7 separate regions of the Homo sapiens genome follow, and regions 1, 2, 4, 5, 6 and 7 are each linked to region 3. The links are contacts of gene promoters, found by promoter capture Hi-C in blood cells and fetal thymus (Javierre and others, 2016). All regions are on one chromosome and are shown on one strand. The core of a region is centred on a gene start or on the middle of the fragment in contact, and the rest is flanking DNA. Distances in the headings are between cores, read along the strand shown. Region 1 overlaps LOC105375716 (a long non-coding RNA gene). Region 2 overlaps LOC105375716 (a long non-coding RNA gene). Region 3 holds the start of EXT1 (exostosin glycosyltransferase 1). Region 4 overlaps LOC105375716 (a long non-coding RNA gene). Region 5 overlaps LOC105375716 (a long non-coding RNA gene). Region 6 overlaps LOC105375716 (a long non-coding RNA gene). Region 7 overlaps LOC105375716 (a long non-coding RNA gene).

What was found. The method cuts DNA at HindIII sites, captures the fragments that hold promoters and counts their contacts. A CHiCAGO score of 5 or more calls a contact.
Region 1: a fragment that was not itself captured here is called in contact with the fragment with the promoter of EXT1 in region 3 in 4 of 17 cell types (total B cells, naive B cells, naive CD4 T cells and 1 more); the score reaches 10.2 in total B cells.
Region 2: a contact is called between a fragment that was not itself captured here and the fragment with the promoter of EXT1 in region 3, in 2 of 17 cell types (total B cells and naive CD8 T cells). The highest score is 7.9, in total B cells.
Region 4: a contact is called between a fragment that was not itself captured here and the fragment with the promoter of EXT1 in region 3, in 6 of 17 cell types (naive B cells, naive CD4 T cells, total B cells and 3 more). The highest score is 7.0, in naive B cells.
Region 5: a fragment that was not itself captured here is called in contact with the fragment with the promoter of EXT1 in region 3 in 1 of 17 cell types (naive B cells); the score reaches 6.3 in naive B cells.
Region 6: a fragment that was not itself captured here is called in contact with the fragment with the promoter of EXT1 in region 3 in 2 of 17 cell types (naive B cells and total B cells); the score reaches 5.3 in naive B cells.
Region 7: a fragment that was not itself captured here is called in contact with the fragment with the promoter of EXT1 in region 3 in 6 of 17 cell types (total B cells, naive B cells, naive CD4 T cells and 3 more); the score reaches 15.1 in total B cells.

Annotation. Positions count from the first base shown.
Region 1 is chr8:117,406,856-117,410,069 of GRCh38, reverse strand. All of the region lies in intron 4 of LOC105375716 (a long non-coding RNA gene), which reads left to right. Among named protein-coding and RNA genes, the nearest start is that of MED30, 110 kb to the left of the region's middle. The HindIII fragment of the contact is 1,347 bases long and covers 661-2,007 here.
Region 2 is chr8:117,349,330-117,352,552 of GRCh38, reverse strand. The region is part of intron 4 of LOC105375716 (a long non-coding RNA gene); the gene reads left to right. Among named protein-coding and RNA genes, the nearest start is that of MED30, 170 kb to the left of the region's middle. The HindIII fragment of the contact is 4,045 bases long and covers 1-3,223 here.
Region 3 is chr8:118,110,440-118,113,911 of GRCh38, reverse strand. EXT1 (exostosin glycosyltransferase 1) reads left to right here and starts at 2,086. Exons shown (of 11, transcript NM_000127.3): 1 at 2,086-3,472. The coding sequence starts at 2,866. RefSeq lists silencers at 1,664-2,043, 2,144-2,233. The HindIII fragment of the contact is 5,337 bases long and covers 1,293-3,472 here.
Region 4 is chr8:117,424,638-117,427,982 of GRCh38, reverse strand. All of the region lies in intron 4 of LOC105375716 (a long non-coding RNA gene), which reads left to right. Among named protein-coding and RNA genes, the nearest start is that of MED30, 94 kb to the left of the region's middle. The HindIII fragment of the contact is 6,383 bases long and covers 1-3,345 here.
Region 5 is chr8:117,313,398-117,316,610 of GRCh38, reverse strand. The region is part of intron 4 of LOC105375716 (a long non-coding RNA gene); the gene reads left to right. Among named protein-coding and RNA genes, the nearest start is that of SLC30A8, 180 kb to the right of the region's middle. The HindIII fragment of the contact is 2,278 bases long and covers 761-3,038 here.
Region 6 is chr8:117,369,111-117,372,733 of GRCh38, reverse strand. The region is part of intron 4 of LOC105375716 (a long non-coding RNA gene); the gene reads left to right. Among named protein-coding and RNA genes, the nearest start is that of MED30, 150 kb to the left of the region's middle. The HindIII fragment of the contact is 3,140 bases long and covers 1-2,974 here.
Region 7 is chr8:117,389,478-117,392,908 of GRCh38, reverse strand. All of the region lies in intron 4 of LOC105375716 (a long non-coding RNA gene), which reads left to right. Among named protein-coding and RNA genes, the nearest start is that of MED30, 130 kb to the left of the region's middle. The HindIII fragment of the contact is 795 bases long and covers 1,395-2,189 here.

The DNA.
Region 1 (3,214 bases), core at 85-2,584, 700 kb after region 3:
CTGGTCAACCACTGATTTTCCACAACAAAAGGACAAGGTTGCTACTGTGAAGCTCTTTGTATGACCAAGAACAAAGTAGAGTATATTTTCCTAAAATCACATAGATCCAAAGAAGAAAGGCAAAGGGAAGGGACTCAGTCAAACATGACCAGTTTTTGTTCCTAAATTTGCTATTCAGATACTTTAATCCTCCTCCCATTAGGAAAAATTAGTGAGGATGCAGAGGAAGCCAAGAATGTTACTCTAATAGAAACATTAAGAGTAAAGAAGGTCCCATTTAATAATGTATAGTCCTAATAAAACAATAGAAAGGGTATGTTTAACATTTGCATTGGCATTCCTGCCTCTGCTCTCTCCATCCAAAACGCATGTAGATAACCTACAATCAGGCATTTATCTTCTATATAAAGTTGAAGGTCGTTCTCTGAACAAACTGCACCTATTGTCAGGATATATTAAATCCAGGTGTCACAAGGTAAACTTTTACAGGCACAGTAATGTAGACTACTTGTAGTTTAGATTACTTATATTTAGATCTCAAATTTCAGCAGTACAATCCTAGCTTGCAGTCTATACACAATATATTTTACTTCATCAGGGAACCATGGTGGAATCACAGAACTTTAGCAAAATCTGGCTTCAGGGCTCAGAGTGCAAGCTTTCAGCAGGGTTCTTCAAAAAGATACATGTGCTTAGTGGGTGAGGAGCGCACAACTTTCTCAGCTGTCAGATTATATCATACTCTCCCTGTCTGATCAGGCAGTAATGAACAATGGCACCAAGGAGTCTGGTTTCTGCTTTTTATCAGGAAACAGCTTTTCCTGCTTTGGCATCAAAACCATATCAACAAAAGCCCAAACCAGAACACACAGCTCAGTGGAAGATGGATACGCCCATGTTTTCAAGGTAATACCAGCATTTTACCTGGCTGAACCACCTCTGGCACAATTCACATATTAAATATAAGCCTTTCACTATGGAAGACGTTCACTCTATAGTAGCATGGAAATCTATCCTCCAAGGATTGCATGCCATTTGTTTCAGACAATATTCTTTTGTGGTACTTAATACACAAGGTAAAAGTGAGGGAAGACACACAGGAAAGAGGACATGAACAAATTTAGTAAGTTTAAAATATTAGCAAAGCTAATGTGTCAAGTTTAACTGAAAATCACAAGTAGCATGTCTGAGAGCAATGAGAAATCCTGAAGAAATACAATGATCAGAGAAGAAACTATTCTTCCTCAAGCTAGTTTTATTGCTCATTCAGATGGAGTGTATATAGAAAATAACACACAATTACACATGACAGGTCAGTCATTATGAGAGCACTGGTATACATCTCAATGCCATTGTTTTCTATTCTGTTTGATACAGAACATATATTTCCTATATATTAACTCACTATTTGGTTGAGTAAATAAAATTTTCATTCTCTTAATTAGGTAAAAATTATTCTGATATAGTAGTATCTTGAGCATATTGTAGCTTCTTAGTAGGTAACTTTCCAAATCTTGACTGCCAGAAATACTATAATCTTCTTCAGCTTCCCAATTGCATTTCCTGGAAACAAGTGAGATAACAGATTTATATCATCTAATGCCTGGTATATACTATGCCCTCCATAAACAAGAGCAGCCAGGCCCCATTTGTGAATCAATGCTCATCTCAGATCCTGAGACACTCCTGATGAGAGCAAGAAGTATGCTGGAAGCCTCACCCTCTCTACCCCCATCCAGTGGCCCTTGGAACTAAGTCTCATGTCTCAGACCCCAAGTCCAGTGTCTGAGCTATGATTGATGGGATGCCACATGCCCTCTGAGCTACCTTAATGCCAACCTGGCTCAGGACCCCATGTACCAGGAATGAGCATCTGTGGAGCCCTAAACAACAGCCTTTTTCCTTCCACTTATATATGGGTCCCAGCCAAGGGTAAGAACTTCTTTGTTTTTATTTTGACCTTCATAGTTTCTGCTTAATGTCCCTGATTAGACACCAAGTCAAGCTTAGGGTATTGCCGTGAATGCCTGGCTCTTACAAGGTTTCTGTTCCAAAGCTGAATTCTGCTCCCCTATATTTCTACCCAATTGTGAGAAATCCACATGGACAAACCTAGTGTCTATTGCTCTTTGCCTCTTCCAGATATCATTCACCACTGGGATCTTCATCCCTGTGTGCCACAGTTCAGATAGACACTGGCAATTGCCTGAATCACCTCAGGTCTTGAGGCTTTTTGGAGTTTCTGTGTCCGAGATGCCCCCGCTCGTGTCCTCCTACATTATGGTGACACTGATGCTACTGAAATGTTTTCTCACCTCTCTACAAAAGATGTCTTAGTGTCCCAACTTGCATCTTACCTCACCTTTTCTATGACAACACTGATTTTCCAGACTAGGCTGCAAATGGACTGATCTCTAAGTACAAACTATGGGATTAGAGTAGAAAGAAAGAGGGTCATGAGCTGCATCACTCAAAGATGTTTGTAAGTTGAATCCCAGTCCCTCAAACCCAAACCAGCTGAGGAAGTGATTTTTCTTTTGTTTTTGGTTCTCAAGAATTGCAACCCCTTCAATATTTTATTCATTAGATTTATTTTCCTTATTTTTTTTCTGAGCTCAGAACTTCTGTGCAAGATAGAATAAGAAAACTGCAAAACCCCTTCAGGGCACAAATCAGGAATTGTTTCATTTGCTTTTTTTTTATTTTTATGAAGTCCAGGATATAGGTCTTGATGAAGCCACATCAGCTCTTTTTCTCTTTTCTGTTTTTCTTTTAAACAGAACAAACTGCCAGCAGGATTCCTGTTTCTGAGGGTAGGAATTGCTTGTACGCATTTCCCATAAGGATTCTAACAGGAGGTTTCTCTCTGCTAAGGCAAAGGGCTCGTTGTATTGCCAATTTTGGGCATGTAGCCAGAATAAGTCTGAGATCCCTTATGCCCACCAAGACACCCTTCCCTGTATCTGTACAGTCTGATTTGCTTGAGAAACATAGTTCATTTCTGTAATTATCTCAGAATGGAGAAGTTTAAGTCTGTGTAATTACAGTGTTCATGCATATTGAGGATTCTCTCAAGTTTGGATGTCAACAGGGTGCCCAGGAAAAGGCTGACTGGTGAATCCAAGTTTTGAGACCACAAGCAGGGTGAAATGTAGGAGGCCCCATAATGGCCTTCTCAAGCCCAGTTCCATATTGATCAGTGCAGCTGTGAGAG
Region 2 (3,223 bases), core at 470-2,969, 760 kb after region 3:
TTCAACTTATAACTGACAGTTTGCACCCTTTGACCAACATGACCCCTTTACCCCACCCGCAACCCAAGCAACCACCATTCTACTCCATTTCTATGAGTTCAACTTTTAAAATTTCAATATATGTGAGATCACGCAAAGTTTGACTTTCAGTGTCTGTTTTATTTCATGTAGTATAATGTCTTTCAGGCTGTTTCCTTTTTTCTTGAAACACGGTCTTTCTGTCACTCAAGCTGGAGTGCAGCAGCATAATCATAACTTACTGCAGCCTCAAACTCCTGGGCTCAAGCAATCCTCTCCCCTCCGCCTCCCAAATAGCTGGGACTACAGGTACGTGCCACCATGCCTGGCTAATTTTTTAATTTTTGGTAGATACAGGGGTTGCGCTATGTTGCCAAGTCTTGTCTCAAGCAATCCTCCTGCCTTGGCCTCCAAACTAATCACAAGTAGAATGACAGGCATGAGCCACTACACCCAGCCCTTTCTCCAGCTTCTTTCTTAAGGTTGAATAATAATCCATTGTGTGTGTCTGTATATATATATATACACAAACAATTATATTGTAAATAATGCGGTAATGAACATGGGAGTGCAAATACCTCTTCAACATACTTGTTTCACTTCCTTTAGATGTATACACAGAAGTGAGATTGTTATATGGTAGTTCTATTTTTCACATTTTGGGATACTTTTATACTGTTTTCCATGGTGTCTGTACCATTTTACATTCCCACAAACCGTGTACAAGGGTTCTTATTTCTCTACAATCCCACCGACACTTGTCTTTTGCTTTTCTGATAAAGCCATCCCAGCAGGTGTGAAGCGATATCTCCCTGTGGTTTTGATTTGCATTTCCCTGTTGAGTGGTGATGTGAACCTTTTCATATACCTGTTGGCATTTTCTTTGGAAAAATGTCTATTCATATCCTTTGCCCATTTTTAAATCAGGTTATTTGTTTTTCCACTTTTGAGTTGTATGGCCTACTTGTTTACTTTTGCTTTTGTTACCTGTGCTTTTGGTGTCATATCCAAAAAATCATTGCCAAGAACAATATCAAGGAGCTCTTTTTCTATGTGCTTTCTTCTTTTAGGAGTTTTATGGTTTTATGTCTTGCATTTAAGTATTTAATCCATTCATAGATGATTTTTGAGTCTGGTGTAAGATAAGGGTCCAATTTTGTTCTTTTGCATGTGGCTATTCAGTTTTCCCACCACCATTTAATAAGAACTATCCTTTTCCTGCTTTGTATTCATGGCCTCTTTGCCAAGATATCCATGGGCTTATTTCTGGGCTCTCGATTCTGTTCCATTGGTTTATGTGTCTGTTTATATGCCAATACCATACTATTTTAATTTTTATAGTTTTGTAATATAAATTGAAATCAGGAAGTATGGTGCTTTCAGCTCTCATCTTCTTGCTCAAGATTTCTTTTGTTATTCAGGGTCTTTAGAGGTACCATGCAAATTTTAGAATTTTTTTCTATTTCTGTGAAAAATGCTATTGGAATTTTGATGAGGATTGCATTGAAACTAGAGATTGCTTTAAGTAGCATGAACATTTTAATAATAATTATTTCAATCCATGAACAAGGAGTATTTTTTCATTGATTTGTGTCTTCTTTTTTTTTTAGATTTTATTTTATTTATTTATTTATTTTTTAAATTTTATTATTATACTTTAAGTTCTAGGGTACATGTGCACAATGTGCAGGTTTGTTACATATGTATGCATGTGCCATGTTGCTGTGCTGCAGCCATTAGCTCATCATTTAGCATTAGGTATATCTCCTAATGCTATCCCTCCCCCCTCCCCCCACCCCACAACAGTCCCCGGTGTGTGATGTTCCCCTTCCTGTGTCCATGTGTTCTCATTGTTCAATTCCCACCTATGAGTGAGAACATGCGGTGTTTGGTTTTTTGTCCTTGCAATAGTTTGCTGAGAATGATCGTTTCCAGTTTCATCCATGTCCCTACAAAGGACAAGAACTCATCCTTTTTTATGGCTGCATAGTATTCCATGGTGTATATGTGCCACATTTTCTTAATCCAGTCTATCGTTGTTGGACATTTAGGTTGATTCCAAGTCTTTGCTATTGTGAATAGTGCTGCTATAAACATACATGTGCATGTGTCTTTATAGCAGCATGATTTATAATCCTTTGGGTATATACCCAGTAATGGGATGGCTGGAATATAGACTAATGGAACAGAACAGAGCCCTCAGAAATAATGCTGCATGTCTACAACTATCTGATCTTTGACAAACCTGACAAAAGCAAGCAATGGGAAAAGGATTCCCTATTTAATAAATGATGCTGGGAAAACTGGCTAGCCATATGTAGAAAGCTGAAACTGGATCCCTTCCTTACACCTTATACAAAAACTAATTCAAGATGGATTAAAGACTTAAATGTTAGACCTAAAACCATAAGAACTCTAGAAGAAAACCTAGGCAATACCATTCAGGACATAGGCATGGGCAAGGACTTCATGTCTAAAACACCAAAAGCAATGGCAACAAAAGCCAAAATTGACAAATGGGATGTAATTAAACTAAAGAGCTTCTGCACAGCAAAAGAAACTACCATCAGAGTGAACAGGCAACCTACAGAGTGGGAGAAAATTTTTGCAATCTACTCATCTGACAAAGGGCTAACATCCAGAATCTACAATGAACTCAAACAAATTTACAAGAAAAAAACAAACAATCCCATCAACAAGTGGGTGAAGGATATGAACAGACACTTCTCAAAAGAAGACATTTATGCAGCCAAAAGACACATGAAAAAATGCTCATCATCACTGGCCATCAGAGAAATGCAAATCAAAACCACAATGAGATACCATCTCACACCAGTTAGAATGGCGATCATTAAAAAGTCAGGAAACAGCAGGTGTTGGAGAGGATGTGGAGAAAGAGGAACACTTTTACACTGTTGGTGGGACTGTAAACTAGTTCAACCATTGTAGAAGTCAGTGTGGTGATTCCTCAGGGATCTAGAACTAGAAATACCATTTGATTTGTGTCTTCTGTCATGGCTTTTGTCAATGTTTAATTGTTTTCAGTGTACAAATCTTTCATCTCCTTGGTTAATTTATTCTTACATACTTTTGATGCTATTGTAAATGACATTGTTTTCTTTTTTTTTCAGATGGTTTATTGTTAGTGTACAGAAATGAGACTGATTTTTGTATGTTGATTTTTTATCTAGAAACCTCACTGAAT
Region 3 (3,472 bases), core at 837-3,336:
GAGTTCGAGACCAGCCTTGCCAATACAGCAAAACCCCATCTCTACCAAAAATAAACAAAAATTAGCCAGGGCTGGTGGTGCACACCTGTAATCCCAGCTACTCCGGAGGCTGAGGGAGGCAAATCACTTGAATCTGGGAGGCAGAGTTTCTAGTGAGCCGAGATCCTGCCACTGCACTCCAGCATATATATATATATATATATATATATATATATAGAGAGAGAGAGAGAGAGAGAGAGAGAGAGAGAGAGAGAGAGAGAGAGAGAGCACCTCCAGTCCCACAGCCCCACTTCACAGGGCTGAGATAATCTGCACCCTGATCAGAAGAGAAGGCCTCCTGCCTTGAACTGTTGTTCTTAGCAACTTGGGCTGGGGGGAGCTTTGGGTCACATGTGGTTTCAATCACTGCCTTTATCTGCATCATTGTCACTGTATTTGGAAGATGACTGAATCCTTATTCCTGTCCCAGGCCTCTCTACATTGTGCAGGGGGTTCAAGTCAAATCTGGAAAAGCTGTCTCATCTTTGGCAGGTCAGAAATAGGGAGAGGCTTCACGAATGTATAGTAATGTCCCACCCATGCCCCTTCCCTGCTTTATTAAAACAAATCTGAAACAACAGAGGTCTGAAACTTTCCACTCTATCATTTCATACTGCCTTGTTATAACCCTGCCCTTCATCCACACCCCGCTGGGGTTTTTGCAGCCTGAGGGAAGCCGGGAAGTGTCTGCTCCTAGCTCTCAGTCACTCCCATAATAAACAATCACTAAACAGCCGGCTGCCCTAGGCAACTGTCTAGCTTGCCCGAGCCCTGAGACTTTAGCTAGGCCAGAGGGTGGGAGGTGTTTTCTGTAAAGCAGTGTTCAGGATCTGAGGCCAGGGAGTTTGACTTTGACCAGAGATACTGTTTGGGAGCCTAGCACATCTTTGTGGACCTGGAGGATCTTTAGCGGGACTGCTCCTCGGTTACCTGAGTTATCTAATGAAGTTCTTCCACTGGGAGTGGCAGGAGCTTGGGCCAAGGAGTGGGAGGTCAGTGAGGGAAGGACCAACTATTTGGCACTAATTGTACATAAGGTAGTTTTCCTGATGCAAGTGTTCCTTCTATAGCTGGGACAGTTGGCAATTCTACCAGTCATATGTCCTTAAGAGATATCTTTAACACCACCACCACCACCACCACCACCAAGAGAATAACATCACTTTGAGGACTGGGGCAAGCTTAAATTAACTGGTTTCCCTGCAGCCATTAGAAAATTTATTTTTTCTCTGTGATTGGATCTCTTGGAAGCTTTCTTCATAATAGACAGAGGGGGCTCAGGCAAGGCGGCCTAAGTAGATAATGAGGATTTAGGATAGCCGTCTTACACTCTTAGCACAGAGGCAGGCATGAAGAATTGCAACAATTCCTCTTGATTGTAATAATTCCTCTTTATTGTTGGGCATTGGGGTGTTTCTTTGGTTTAAAAAAATGTGCTATGTAGAGGAGGAGTAAGGGGAGATTGTTTTAATGCTTAGCAGAAAATTGAAATACTGGGTCTCGGAGAGTGGAAGGAGGGCTGGGAGAGGCAGCTTTCGGATCGGCGGTCGCTTTCTATGAAGTCTTCCTTTCCTCCCTGCTTCCCTCCTTCAAAGCATCTTTCTCTAGGCGTTCCGGCAGGCAGCCCAGGAGGCCAGATTCTCCAGGGCGCCCGGGGCCGCGCGGCACGGGGCCCCTGCCGGTGCCTCCTTCCCCGGCCGCCGCGTTTCCGCAGGCGCCTCTGGTCCCCGGCACGGCGCAGGCCGAGATCCGGGCCTGGGCGCGCCGAGGGGCCGCGGGGCTCGCACCGGGCCGTCCCGCGCTCCACCTGCCCGGCAGCCCGCCGGCAGCTTGCAACCCGGGAGCCCCGGCTCCCTGCGCCCCCTACGCCCCCAACGCCGCGCCGGCGCCTCGGCCCGCGGCCGGGGGTTATGAATGGGCGCAGCGGAAGCACCGCCCCCCCCGGACGTGACGCTCGGCCAATGGCAGCGCGGGCTGCGTGGATGGATGAGGTCAGCGCTGTCGTGTCGGGAATGGAATGTGTAAGTGTAACATTCAGAACCGGGTAACATTCGGCGACCGAACGCGGCGGTCGGCAGCGTTCGCGCGGGGGCCTGCGAAGCGCTGCTCGGGGCCGGCACTGCCCGCGGGGAGGACGCGCCGCCGCCGCCACCCAGCGCCGCCGCCGCCGCCGCCTCCAGCCGGGCCGCCGCGCGTCCCGGGGGCCGGCCCCGCGAGCGCAGGAGTAAACACCGCCGGAGTCTTGGAGCCGCTGCAGAAGGGAATAAAGAGAGATGCAGGGATTTGTGAGGTTACGGCGCCCCAGCTGCAAGATGCACTAGCCGGCTGAACCCGGGATCGGCTGACTTGTTGGAACCGGAGTGCTCTGCACGGAGAGTGGTGGATGAGTTGAAGTTGCCTTCCCGGGGCTCATTTTCCACGCTGCCGAGAGGAATCCGAGAGGCAAGGCAATCACTTCGTCTTGCCATTGATTGGGTATCGGGAGCTTTTTTTTTCTCCCCTCTCTCTTTCTTTTCCTCCGTCTTGTTGCATGCAAGAAAATTACAGTCCGCTGCTCGCCCGCCCTGGGTGCGAGATATTCAGCCCCGCTCTCTCCCGTGCATTGTGCAACCCAAAGATGAAAGACCGAAGGGGAGAAAGTTAAAGAAATCGCCCACATGCGCTGGATCAGTCCACGGCTTGGGGAAAGGCATCCAGAGAAGGTGGGAGCGGAGAGTTTGAAGTCTTTACAGGCGGGAAGATGGCGGACTGGAGCTGAAAGTGTTGATTGGGAAACTTGGGTGATTCTTGTGTTTATTTACAATCCTCTTGACCCAGGCAGGACACATGCAGGCCAAAAAACGCTATTTCATCCTGCTCTCAGCTGGCTCTTGTCTCGCCCTTTTGTTTTATTTCGGAGGCTTGCAGTTTAGGGCATCGAGGAGCCACAGCCGGAGAGAAGAACACAGCGGTAGGAATGGCTTGCACCACCCCAGTCCGGATCATTTCTGGCCCCGCTTCCCGGACGCTCTGCGCCCCTTCGTTCCTTGGGATCAATTGGAAAACGAGGATTCCAGCGTGCACATTTCCCCCCGGCAGAAGCGAGATGCCAACTCCAGCATCTACAAAGGCAAGAAGTGCCGCATGGAGTCCTGCTTCGATTTCACCCTTTGCAAGAAAAACGGCTTCAAAGTCTACGTATACCCACAGCAAAAAGGGGAGAAAATCGCCGAAAGTTACCAAAACATTCTAGCGGCCATCGAGGGCTCCAGGTTCTACACCTCGGACCCCAGCCAGGCGTGCCTCTTTGTCCTGAGTCTGGATACTTTAGACAGAGACCAGTTGTCACCTCAGTATGTGCACAATTTGAGATCCAAAGTGCAGAGTCTCCACTTGTGGAACAATGGTAGGAATCATTTAATTTTTAATTTATATTCCGGCACTTGGCCTGACT
Region 4 (3,345 bases), core at 630-3,129, 690 kb after region 3:
AGATAAACACATGAACAAAGGTCTCTGGTTTTCCTAGGCAGAGGACCCTGCGGCCTTCCGCAGTGTTTGTGTCCCTGGGTACTTGAGATTAGGGAGTGGTGATGACTCTTAATGAGCATGCTGCCTTCAAGCATCTGTTTAACAAAGCACATCTTGCACCGCCCTTAATGCATTTAACCCTGAGTTGACATAGCACATGTTTCAGAGAGCACGGGGTTGGGGATAAGGTTATAGATTAACAGCATCCCAAGGCAGAAGAATTTTTCTTAGTACAGAACAAAATGGAGTCTCCTATGTCTACTTCTTTCTACACAGACACAGTAACAATCTGATCTCTCTTTCTTTTCCCCACATTTCCCCCTTTTCTTTTTGACAAAATGGCCATCGTCATCATGGCCTGTTCTCGATAGTCACTGTCTCTTCGGAGCTGTTGGGTACACCTGCAGAAAGGCTGTCACTTCACACTTGGAAGATTGCACAGTAGCCAGGCAGAGGCGCTCCTCACTTCCCAGACAGGGTGGCAGCCGGGCAGAGGCACTCCTCACTTCCCAGATGGGGCGGCCGGGCCGAGGCGCTCCTCACCTCCCAGACAGGGTGGCTGGGCAGAGACGCTCCTCACCTCCCAGACGGGGCGGCCGGGCAGAGGCGCTCCTCGCTTCCTAGACGGGGCGGCCGGGCAGAGGTGCTCCTTGCTTCCTAGACGGGGCAGCCGGGCAGAGGCGCTCCTCACTTCCCAGACGAAGGGCGGCTGGGCAGAGGTGCTCCTCACCTCCCAGACGGGGTGGCGGCCGGGCAGAGGCGCTCCTCACCTCCCAGACGGGGCGGCCGGGCAGAGGCGCTCCTCGCCTCCCAGACGGGGCGGCCGGGCAGAGGCGCTCCTCGCTTCCCAGACGGGGCGGCTGGGCAGAGGCGCTCCTCACTTCCTAAATGGGGCAGCCAGGCAGAGACGCTCCTCACATCCCAGATGGGGTGGTGGCTGGGCAGAGGCACTCCTCACTTCCCAGATGGGGTGGTGGCCGGGCAGAGGCGCTCCTCACTTCCTAGATGGGGTGGCGGCCAGGCAGAGACGCTCCTCACCTCCCAGACGGGGTGGCAGCCGGGCAGAGGTGCTCCTCACCTCCCAGACGGGGTGGCCGGGCAGAGGCGCTCCTCACTTCCCAGTCAGGGTGGCCAGGCATAAGCACTCCTCACATCCCAGAGGGGGCAGCCAGGCAGAGGTGCTCCTCACATCCCAGATGATGGGTGGCTGGGCAGAGATGCTCCTCACTTCCTAGAAGGGGTGGTGGCCGGGCATAAGTGCTCCTCACTTCCCAGACAGGGCGGCCGGGCAGAGGGGCTCCTCACATCCCAGATGATGGGCGGCTAGGCAGAGATGCTGCTCACTTCCTAGATGGGGTGGCGGCCGGGCAGAGGCTGTAATCTTAGCACTTTGGGAGGCCAAGGCAGGCGGCTGGGAGGTGGAGGTTGTAGCGAGCTGAGATCACGCCACTGCACTCCAGCCTGGGCAACATTGAGCATTGAGTAAGTGAGACTCCGTCTGCAATCCCAGCACCTCGGGATGCCGAGGCGGGCAGATCACTGGAGGTCAGAAGCTGGAGACCAGCCCAGTCAACACGGCGAAAACCCATCTCCACCAAAAATACAAAAACCAGTCAGGCATGGCGGCGCCTGCCTGCAATCCCAGGCACTCGACAGGAGAATCACGGGAGCCCGAGGCAGGGACGTTGCAGCGAGCTGAGATCACGGCAGTACAGTCCAGCCTTGGCAACAGAGGGAGACCAAAGAAGGGAGAGGGAGAGGGAGAGGTTGAGGGTGTCTTGACTTTTTATAGTCGCCATTCTGACTGATGTGAGATGGTATCTCATTGTGGTTTTGATTTGCATTTCTCTAATGATTAGTGGTGTTGAGCTGTTTTTCATATGTTTCTTGGCCACATAAATGTCTTCTTTTAAAAATGTTTTTTCATATCCTTTGCCCACTTTTTAATGGGGTTGTTTGTTTTTTCTTGTAAATTTGTTTAAGTTTCTTGTAGATTCTGGATATTAGACCTTTGTCAGATGGATTGATTGCAAAAATTTTTACCCATTCTATAGATTGTCTGATTACTTTGATGATAGTTTCTTTTGCTGTGCAGAAGCTCCTTAGTTTAGTTAGATCCCATTTGTCAATTTTTGCTTTTGTTGCAATTGCTTTTGATGTTTTCATCATGAAATCTTTGCCCATGCCTATGTGCTGAATGGTATTGCCTAAATTTTCTTTCAGGGTTTGTATAGTTTTGTGTTTTACATTTAAGTCTTTAATCCATCTTGAGTTAATTTTTGTATAAGGTGTAAGGAAGTGGTCCAGTTTCAGTTTTCTGCATATGGCTAGCCAGTTTTCCAAGCACTATTTATTAAATAGGGAATCCTTTCCCGTGCTTGTTTTTGTCAGGTTTGTCGAAGACCAGATGGTTGTAGATGTGCGGTCTTATTTCTGGGGTCTCTATTCTGTTCCATTGGTCTATGTGTCTATTTTTGTATCAGTACCACGCTGTTTTGGTTATGGTAGCCTTGTAGTATGGCTTGAAGTCAGGTAGCATGATGCCTCCAGCTTTGTTCTTTTTGCTTAGGATTGTCTTGGCTATACAGAGTCCTTTTTTCTTCTATATGAATTTTAAAGTAGTTTTTTTCCAATTTTGTGAAGAATGTTGATATGGTTTGGCTCTGTCCCAACCCAAATCTCATCTTGAATTGTAACTCTCATAATTCCCACATGCTGTGGGAGGAATCTGGTGTGAGGTGATTGCATTATGGGGACAGGTCTTTCCTGCACAGTTCTTGTGATAGTGAATAAGTCTCATGAGATCTGATGGTTTTAAAAATGGGAGTTTCCCTGCACAAGCTCTCCTTTTGTCTGCCACCATATGAGACATGCCTTTCACCTTCCATCATGATTGTGAGGCCTCCCCAGCCACATGGACTGTGAGTCCAATAAATCTCTTTCTTTTGTAAATTGCCCAGCCTTGGGTATGTCTTTTTTAGCAGCATGAAAACAAACAAATACAGTAAATTGATACTAGTAGAGTGGGACATAGCTGAAAAGATACACAAAAATGTGGAAGCAACTTTGGAATTGAGTAACAGGAAGAGATCGCAACAGTTTGGAAGCCTCAGAGGAAGACAGGAAAATATGGGAATGTTTGGAACTCCCTAGGGACTTGTTGAATGGCTTTCACCAAAATGCTGATAACGATATGAAGAATAAAAATACAGGCTGAAGTGGTCTCAGATGGAAATGAAGAACTTGTTGGGAACTGGAGCAAAGATGGCTCTTGTTATGTTTTAGCAAAGAGACTAGCAGCATTTT
Region 5 (3,213 bases), core at 650-3,149, 800 kb after region 3:
TCCAGGTTTAGGGGCAGCACCTTTCCTGCTGTGGTGCCAGCTGTATTATTTACCACATGTTTAGTAAAGCTTGTGCCTTCTGAATGAAGTGAGGAGGGTGGAAGCACTAAGCTTACATAAACTAGCTTTCAATAGAGTCTATTTTCCTCCAATTGTCTCACGTGCCTTTTCCCTGGGTAGTCATGCTTCATACTTTTAGAAGCTCAGATCCCAACAGCTGGAGATAAAACTCCCAGTGTAATGGAAGAAAACATGTTGATAGTTTTAATTGGTCCCCAAAGTGAAACCCAAGGAATGATTTATTGGTTGATGGTTTTGAGGCTTCCAACTTAGCAGAGCTGGGAAACATATGGGAAAGATAAACACGCTAGAAATTTGTGGCTATTTGTTAGAAAGTTAATTTTAGTTCATTCAGTTTATGATAATCGAAAAATCTCTTTAAATTTTATTTATTATTATTGAAGTTAATGATGCATCTACTTACCTGCAGGCATGAACACCTGCATCTTAGACCATGCTGTGGTTTTCTACCAGTCTTGAATCCTCCAAAGGTCCTAAACCTATTGACCCAAATAGCCAAAATGTCTATTCCCAACCATACAACTTCATTATTCAAGTGGGAAATATCTGGTGAGGCTGAGGAGCTCTGTAAGCACTGAGAGGCTGGCCATCAAAGACACATGAGAACTTCCAATACTGTATACCCACATTCATCAACAATTGTTGCCATAACACCACATAAAAATCAACTCCCAAAGCTTCCTGGGTTATAACAGCAAATGTTTATGGTTTACTCATGAGTATGCACATCGATTTCTTGCTCACAGGACTGCAGGCCAGCTGGTCCCAACTCTGTCTGCTTCAGGTTAAAAATCAGGTTCATGTCAGCTCCTTGTACCTTTCCTTCCAGAACCTAAGATCAAGATGCAGAATCATGGTCATGTTCATCCCATGGCAAAATGCAGAAACACAATAGGGCTAGAGAAAACTAGCTGTGATTTTTTTTTTTTTTTTTTTTTGAGGCGGAGTCTCACTCTGTCGCCCAGGCTGGAGTGCAATGGCACGATCTCAGCTCACTGCAAGCTCCGCCTCCCAGGTTCACGCCATTCTCCTGCCTCAGCCTCCCTAGTAGCTGGGACTACAGGTGCCCGCGACCACGCCCGGCTAATTTTTTTGTATTTTTTTAGTAGAGACGGGGTTTCACTGTGTTAGCCAGGATGGTCTGGATCTCCTGACTTCGTGATCCACCCGCCTCAGCCTCTCAAAGTGCTGGGATTACAGACGTGAGCCACCGCGCCCGGCCTAGCTGTGATTTTTAAAACCTCTTCTTGGAATTGGCGCATTACCACTTTTGTTCATATTCCTTTGGTCAAAACAAATCACATGTTCTCAAGTCAGTGGACCAGGAAAATATACTCTACCCCATGGGAGAGACAGAGAGAAAATATTTGCTAAAAAATAATCTAATAAAACACATCTTTATTTTTATTTTTACAGACTATGACCTTTGTTTATCTCTTCCATACAATTTAGGGCAATTGAGAGTGCAAATAGGAATATGCACATGAAGTAACTCATGGAGAGATAAATAGAATAAGGAAATATAAACTTTTTTTGTAAATTGTAAAATGTCATGTAATATTACAAATAGGAAACCATTTATGAAGCACCCATTATGAACTGTGGAAGGTGAAATGTTGAGAATAAATTATTCATACAAGTCTTTCTGACTACAAAGCCTGCTAGTCTACACTGTATAATGAATTAAAAATATAGTTTTTAATAATAAAAATCCTAGTGATGAGGGCCTTATAATTATCTCTTTTGTGCAAGACATTTTTTGGCAGTGTTCAGGGTAGGTTGAAGAGTTGGCTGAAGGAGAGAAATAAAGAGGAATAAAATCTGAGTTCTACTCTCTAGAAGCATAAGCCTAGTAGTAGAAATAAAATATGTTCATGAGGAACTATAACCCTTCCCTTCCTCTCTTCTTTCCTTCCTTTCATTCTTCTTTCCTTCCTTTCATTCTTCTTTCCTCTCCATATTGTGATGGGGCATAGTATAATGGTTAAGAACACATACTCTGGAGCAAGACTTCAAGGATTTAAACTCTTGCTCTATTAGTTGTTAGGTCTATATTTCTAGGAAGTCATTTAACCGCCATGTGCCTCAGTTTGTTCATTTGTAAAATGGAATAACATCATTTCAACAAAAATTGTTGTCCCACCACATCCCCTTAGCATTTACCTGTATGTCCTGAAGGCTGCTAACGATAAAACTCTTACGAATCTCTGCTGAAGAGCTTTTATTTTCTTTCTTTTTTTTCCTCTTGTCATAGAAGTACAGTCAGCCCATCCAGAGGACTCAGGAGGAGCACTCAACCAATAATAGGCACAGAGATAGTAGACAAATATCTCATCTTCCTCACCCCTAGTTTGATATAACGCTAAGGTTTATTCTGCCTATATTTTATTGTTTCTCAATGAGATTAAGCTCCAGTTACATATTATGATAACTCACTTGACAACCTGTATTTTATTATCTTTTTTTCTCCCCTATCGCACCCACTGCCTATCGTGTTTCCTGGGATAGCTACTCAAATAAACTATTGGCACATAAATTCTTATGTCAGGACTGCTTCTGGAGAATCTAAACTAAAACAATAGTTGTATCTATGTTGTATGGTTGTTGTGAAGATTAAACATATTAACATATGCCTGATGCTCTTAGACCACTGTCTGACATGACATTTAATTTGGTGTTATCTGTTATTACAACACTAGAATGAAAATTCCAAGAGGGCAGAGCTTATTTTTTTTTACATACTTTATTTAAACTGAAAATTTTTATTCTGTTTTTGGTAAAACAGGCTTTTTATGATTTACGAAAATTCTTATGAATTGCAAAAATGTTTTTTTCTTTCCATGTTTTTCCCTGTATGACCGTGTTTTTTCCTGTGTTCCCCCATTCAAGATTGGCTGCCACAATGAGATAGAAAGCACAAGGACTTTTTTAAAAACTTGCATCTGTAGTGGAAAGCTTAGCAGCAGACAGTAACTGCTCTAGGTCTGTCCACATAGATGCAGTTTTATTCACTTTTGAATTTTTAGCATCCATAGCAGTGCCTAATCCATAGCAAGTACTCATAAATATTTGATAATAAATTTAATTAAATACTTGAGGGCCTTCTAGGCTTTGGTGATATGAAAAAATATT
Region 6 (3,623 bases), core at 155-2,654, 740 kb after region 3:
CTGGTTATGGTACTCCCTGTGTTGTAAATGTTACTGGAGACAGACCCTGTGACTGAGGCTTTCCCCTCTGTGAACAACATATCACTGAGCAACAACTATCTTCTCACAGGTCTGACAGAGACAGAAAAACATGCCAAGGTGAAGACACTAAGAAAGAGGGTCACTAAACACTGCCAAATTGCTTTCTTCTCAAAATGGAACACTTAGCACAAGCAATAAAAAAATTAGCAAACATGCATGTCACCAGTTTGCTCTTATTATTGAAAATGAGGAAATGTATAAGAAGGCTGTCCACAAAAATCAAATGTCTATTTCATTGCTTGCCTAGATATTAGCAGAGGTGAAAATGGATACACAGATTCCAGATAGAGGTCAGGTCAGTCCTGAACAACATTGAAAGATGAACTAAGGTGGTTTGATTTCCCTGTAAGTGACCTCATTGATAATTAGGGATGCCTATGCCATGCTCACTCAGAGGCTACCCCTTTCCAGTAATATTGTATATGTACCTATCATCAGTCATTCACTTATTATCCAAGAATTCACTATCTATCTTTTCCAGGTATAGAGGATTTAGTATTATATATGTTGTCAGTGTCAGAAAGTGAATGCAAACTCTTTTCTCATAGATATTTATGACTTTTGTAACTTGGAGGGCAAAGGAGTGAAATTGGCTTTAAGCAAAAGGGAATTCTAAAGTTAAATTATGCCACCAAGATCCTCTCTTCCATTCTGTTTCTCTCAGGTCATCTTACTCCTTACAGGTTTTCATTTCAGGAAACCTCTCTCTACATGTCGCGAAGGAGACTCATGGCAGTTTCTGGCTTACGTGGGCCATTCAAATTTTAATAACATAAGGTGATAAACTGTCTCCAAATGGCCAAATCCCTTAAACAGGGAAATATGAGTCTGTGTGATGGAGATACTATCTCAGAAGCAGTAGCAGGAGTTTCCAAAAGGAATTCATTAAACAGAAAAAAAAAAAAAAAGACTATATATTTTCACAACTTTAAAAGAAGACTCTTCTTTATGCACAACAAGAATGTAGTCGGACAGGAAAAATAAAGCATAAATAGCTATTATATAATCAAATATAGTGTTGTGATAGAAATATTTTCAACGAACTAGAGGCAATTCTGTATCTGGTATGGCAGAGTAAGCCCCATCATGGTCTACATTCCTATGAATGGCAATTCTAAACTCTGAACAAAACATAAAAATATTTGTAGAAACTAGGGAGTGAACAAAATAAGACAGACTGTAAATAAGTGCCAAAACTTGCCAGAAGGAAAAAGAATGAGGTGCATTTTTTCATTATTGCAGGTATTAGTCTGAAAGTAGGCTAAAGCCTAAAACTCCAACAGAAAAGAGACAGACTTTCTGAACTAAAGAACCAGAGAACAGAGTTCAGGGAAATTACCTTTGCTGAAAACTGAGGTAGGTAAGGATTCAGAAAAAAAAAAAAAAGAACAAGAGAGTGAGCCCCACATTTTGGAAATAAATTCTGCCCAAATTTCTAGATAACCAAGGAACCACACATACGTGGGCAGAATCAAAGCAGTCCAGCTAGAGATAAGGGCACTGAATTGAGATCTGAGCTGTTCCCAAAAAGATTTTTTTGTAACTTGAATTCAACCAAGTTAACTGTCTACTAAAAGAAAGAGCCCATTCTTTGGAAGAATATAACAGAATCTATAATATCGCCTTTCGGGATATAATAAGAAGTTACTCGACATTTGAAGAACTAGGAAAATGTGATCCACTCTCAAGAGAATAAACAATCTACTAAGACCAACTGTAATTAGATTATATGGGTTTTAAAGCAGCTATGTATGATGATGTAAAAGAAATATTTTTTGGGTGGACTTAAAAACTGAATGGAAATGGCAAAGGAAAAGAGTCTGGAGATAAGAGAGCCTCATAAAACTGTAAGACAATGTCTAAAATCTAATGTGTATATAATTGTAATTGCTGAGGATAAAAGATATACAATGGAACAGAAGAAATTGAGATCACAAAAGCACAAGGAACAAACACACAAAAAATAAGACTTCATCAAAATTAAAAACTCTTGTGCATCAAAGGACCTTATAAAGATAGTGAAAAGGCAACCAATAGAATGGGAGAAATATTTGCAAATAATATATCTATTAAAGGTCTAATATCCAGAATATATAAGGTATTCTTACAACTCAACAACAAAAAGACCATAATTCAATTTAAAATGGTCAAGATACTTGAAAGATATTTCTCTAAAAAGGTATTCAAATGGCCAAGAAGCACATGAAAAATAATGCTTGGTATCATTAGTTATAAGAGAAATACAAATTAAAACTACAAAAAGATACAATTTCACATTCACTAAGATGGCTATTTAAAAGAAAACAAAAAAAAATGTGTTGGTGAGGATGTGGAAAAATTGGGACCTTATATATTGCTGGAGGGAACATCAAATGGTGCAGCCACTGAGGAAAAGAATTAAAAAGAGGTATTTAAACAGATATTTGCACATGAATGCTTGCATATGAATGCTCACAGAAGCATTAGTCACAATAGCCAAAAGGTGAAAACAAGTCAAATGTCCACCAGTGGATGAATGAGCAAGCAAACTGTGATATAGACATATAATGGAATATTTTTTGGCAAAAAGAACTAAGTACTGACACATACTATTAAATACAACATGGACTAACCTTGGAAACATTATGCTAAGCAAAAGAAGACAAGCATGAAAGGTCATATATTATACAATTTTATTTATATAAAATATCTGAAATAGATAAACCCATAGAGACAGAAAGCATACTGGTGGTTGTCAGGGGTTGGATGGAGAAAGGGTGGAGAGTGGTTACTTAATGGGTACAGGCTCTTCTTTGGGGTAATGAAAACATTTTTGAGCTAGAGACCACAGTTGCACAACCTTGTGAATGTATTAGATACCACCAATTGTGTATTTTAAACTATACAATAAGCTTTAAAATAATTGTATATTTTTTAAAATAGTTAATTTTTGTTGTATATATAATGCCTTGATAAAATTTTGAAGAATGGATGGTGTACATTTTTTTCAAATTTGGCCATAGACATAAATATGGTAACTAAAGGAGGTTAGTGAGCCCTTGGCAGAATAATTATAAAGAAAACTATGCCTAAGAACATTATACTCAAAGTGCTAAAAACATGAAATGGTGGAAACTTGAAAAACAAATAAATAAAACAAAGTGTTAAAAACAAAAATGAAAGGAAAATCTAAAAAACAGCTATAGAAAAACAACATATAATGTATAGGGAAACAATAATTCAAAAGACTTCTGAATACTCATCAGAAACTAGCGAGGCCATAAGACAGAAGATAAACGTCTTTAAAGCTAAGAGAAAAACAAAACTTTCAACCCAGAAATTTATATCCCATGAAAATAACCTTCAAGAATGAAGGCAAAGTAAAACTCCTTTCAGATGAAACAAAAAGAAGAATATTCATTGACAGTAGTTGGAGATTACAAGGGATGCTAAAAGAAATTCTTCAGGCTGTAGGCAAATGATACTTGAAAAAAGTTGAGGTCTTTTGCAAACAACAAAAAGCACTGGAAATGATAAATATTGTAAAATATATTCTTCATATT
Region 7 (3,431 bases), core at 543-3,042, 720 kb after region 3:
GGGGCTGGGAACTTCCCCCTGATCTGCCTTGTGATTATCTGCCACTGAATTCTTTGGCTTGCACACATTGAGCAGTTCCCTAATTGGCTACTCTTCTATTTTGCCCCTAGGAATACCATCTCATAACCCTCTCCATTCTCAGCTCTTCTTGGCTGCTGCTCCAATCTTACCACTTGTTACAATAGCTTCATCCTTAAGGCTGCTGACGAAGCTCACACATTGCTATTTAGTCTTTTGTTTTGAAGTTTTATCATTCTCATTATTATTAGAGAGCTATAGTTTGGGAATGGCATCTTCTGTTGTCAGCCCTAGACTAACAAGCATTAATGAACATCGCAATGACACCGATGTCCCTCTCACCAGCTCCTTCCTTAGCCCTTTGACAAATAGTGGATCCTCTGGCCTCAGTGATGGAATATCACTATCTGGTGAGTTTTCTCACTTTATGTAGTATATCCACTCTGTAGTATATCCACTCTAACATGTCCACTTCTTTGATTCTTTTAATTGTTTCTTCTACTATCTGCCACAAAAATTCTGGAATTTATTTCTCACCACATGGGGGCCATTGCTTTTTTCATACTTCTAGTGGCCATCCTTACAGTGTGTTTGCACCCTCTTCCGAGGGCTTTTTGCCAGGCTGTTAAATACTCCCATACTGATAAATTCCTCTTATCCAGGTTTTTTTCTTTTGCCCTTGGCAGAACATTTTTTGTAATCAGTCTCATGTGTGCTCTTCCAGCTCCTTCTGGTAAATGTTGACTAGGTCATGCAGCTGTGCAGTCACCGTCCACCTTTTTCCAGGCTGAACACACTCCTGGCTGGGTTAGACTATGACTTAACTCTAGGTTTGGACTTAAAAGCAAAGAAATGAGATAATGAAAGATCATGAGTGGGTGCTGATTGTTTAAAGGAGAGACACCTATATCAGGAAGAGGCTGCCCTCCTCTGTTGGAATGGTGAAGTGGTTTCTCTAATCAATTGTTCTCTTTTTGTGGGGGAGGAGTTGTGTGCATTCTGTTTAATGTGATTTTCTCACTCCCTTACCCAAGAGTTGAGGGAATGTACTGATGCTTAGTAGGAGGAGTAGGCTACTTTCTTAGTCTCAAAGGATTCAATGGAATTAGGGCATTCAAGATTTTCAGGTCCATCAACTCAGATTTTGCCATCTCATGTGTCATGATAGAGATTAACCTTCTTTGGAACGCAGTTACTCTTATTATTAAATCTTAAAACCAATCCTTAGGTTTCACTACCTTTCTGTTGCAAGTGATTAGGAAGTTTTTGTTATGCTACCAAGGAGGCTTTCTGCCTTTCACATTTAGATTTTATTTGGTGATTATTGATTATGATTTGATGATGATGTTATCTTTCCCCAGGGCATCCATCAAGCTTAGCAATAGTTTAGCAATAGGTCACCCAATTCCACTCTCCTTAGAGCTTCTATTTCCTTAATTTTTTCCCAATGGCTGATACCTTGCAGCAATTAGTGCATTCCCATTAAACAATACACCATCCCAGATTGCCCCAGTGAAAGTGTTTCACTGCTACTTTATGCTTGATTAACCATCAGTAATGGGGTTCTCATTGCCGGCCAGCTAGCTGGTAAGTGATCCAGCTCCAAAATTCAATTTTAGCATCTGCAAGACCACTTCTGGTCAACCATCACTGGTTACATTCTCTAGGAAGTAAACTATGAGATGCAGATTAGCATGCTAGGTGTATATTAGTAGATACTCTTTGATGAACACCTGTAGAAGGAAGGTAAAGGAAGTGGGATAAGGAAGAAAGTGAAATTGTGCAGTGATGCAAACACAATAAAGGCCTCAGCGAAACCCGTAGAAATCTCTGAAGCTAAGATGGCCTCTCAGAGTTATCCTGAGTTAGAGTAAAAAGGGGAGCTGGGCTTTTATACTTTTCTCTCAATCAGTGAAGGAGGACTTGGGTGGTATTTCACAGCATCTATCGGTCAATGTCTATTATTTTCTTTGTTTTACTTTTTCTTACATCTTTTTGTACTTAGAAGTACTTTTATTTGTGTTCTAGTAGTTATCTATACACTAGCAGGTGAAAAATGTTCTTCATTCTCCTTTTACTTAGTTGGTGTTTGACTATTTGGTTTCTGAGCTTTAACTTACATACTTTGACTCTCACCTTCCTTTTTCATTTCTCTGCCTTTAAAAAAAGCTTCCTCAGTTATTTCTACTTTGGACAAATTTGTCCTCTAGTAGATTTTCTTGTAAAGGGCACATGTACAGTATCCCTAGATTCTTGCATATCTTAAAAATGTGTTTATATAACCTTGACACTTGAAGGACAGCTTAGCTGGATATGAAATCCTTGGCTCGCACTTTCTTTGAGTTTTTTGAAAAGGTTTCTCCACTGTTATCTGTCTTTGCATGTTGCAGTAGGGAAATCTTATGCCAATTTGATTTCCTTTATAAATAATGTGGGGCTTTTTTTGTTGTTTTGCTTTGCAGACCATGAGGACAATTTTCACTACATATTATACACCATAGGTCCTTTTAATTTATGCAAATAGGTCTTTTATTTCTGAAAAAAAAATTGGATTGTGATCTAAAATGTTGTTCTATTGTGTTGTTTTTTTGTTTTTGGTCCCCCAGAGACTCCAATTATATGTATATTGCATCTGCTTTGCCTATGCCAAATACTTTCCCTTGATCCTTTTAAATTATTTCCTTTTTGTTATTTTTATTCTCTGCCCTGTTTTTATTTTCTTGACTATTCAATTGTCCCTACTAAATTTCAATCCAATGTTTTCTCATTCAGGCAATTTGTAATGTCTTCACTTCTAGGATGAATTTGATTTTTTCTACTATTTCTTTCCTGTGTTCAGTCATTTTACATCTTCCTAATTTTTGTTCATATTTGCTATGAGTTTTACCTTTCTGATTTGAGATACTTATTTTACATATACAAATTCTTGTTTTCAGATATTTAATTCAGATGGAGCTCTTATGTTGCAGTTTTGTTCTACTTCATGGTTGACATTTTGGGGAGTATTTTTAACAGCTGGTACATTTTAATTCTTAATTTGTTTCTTTTTTGTCTAACTTTGTATGGATATTATCTACTTTTCATACTTATTTTGAATGTCTAATTTTCTGGACCAGCAATAGCAGTTGTATGCACACAAAAGTGAAAGTTTTGACAGGCTTATCAAGCTCCCTAGTTCAAGACTACCCTCTTCATTTAGTACGGTGAAGTGCAGCTTCTCTAATTAATTTAGCTATTTTTGTGTGTGGAAAATTTTTGTGTATTCCGTTTTGTGATTCCCTCTCACTTTCTCTCTCTCTTAGTTCAAGACTACCCTCTTCCTTTAGTGTGGTGAAGTGTAGTTTCTCTAATTAATTTAGCTATTTTTGTGTGTGGAAAATTTTTGTGTATTCTGTTTTGTGATTCTCTCTCAC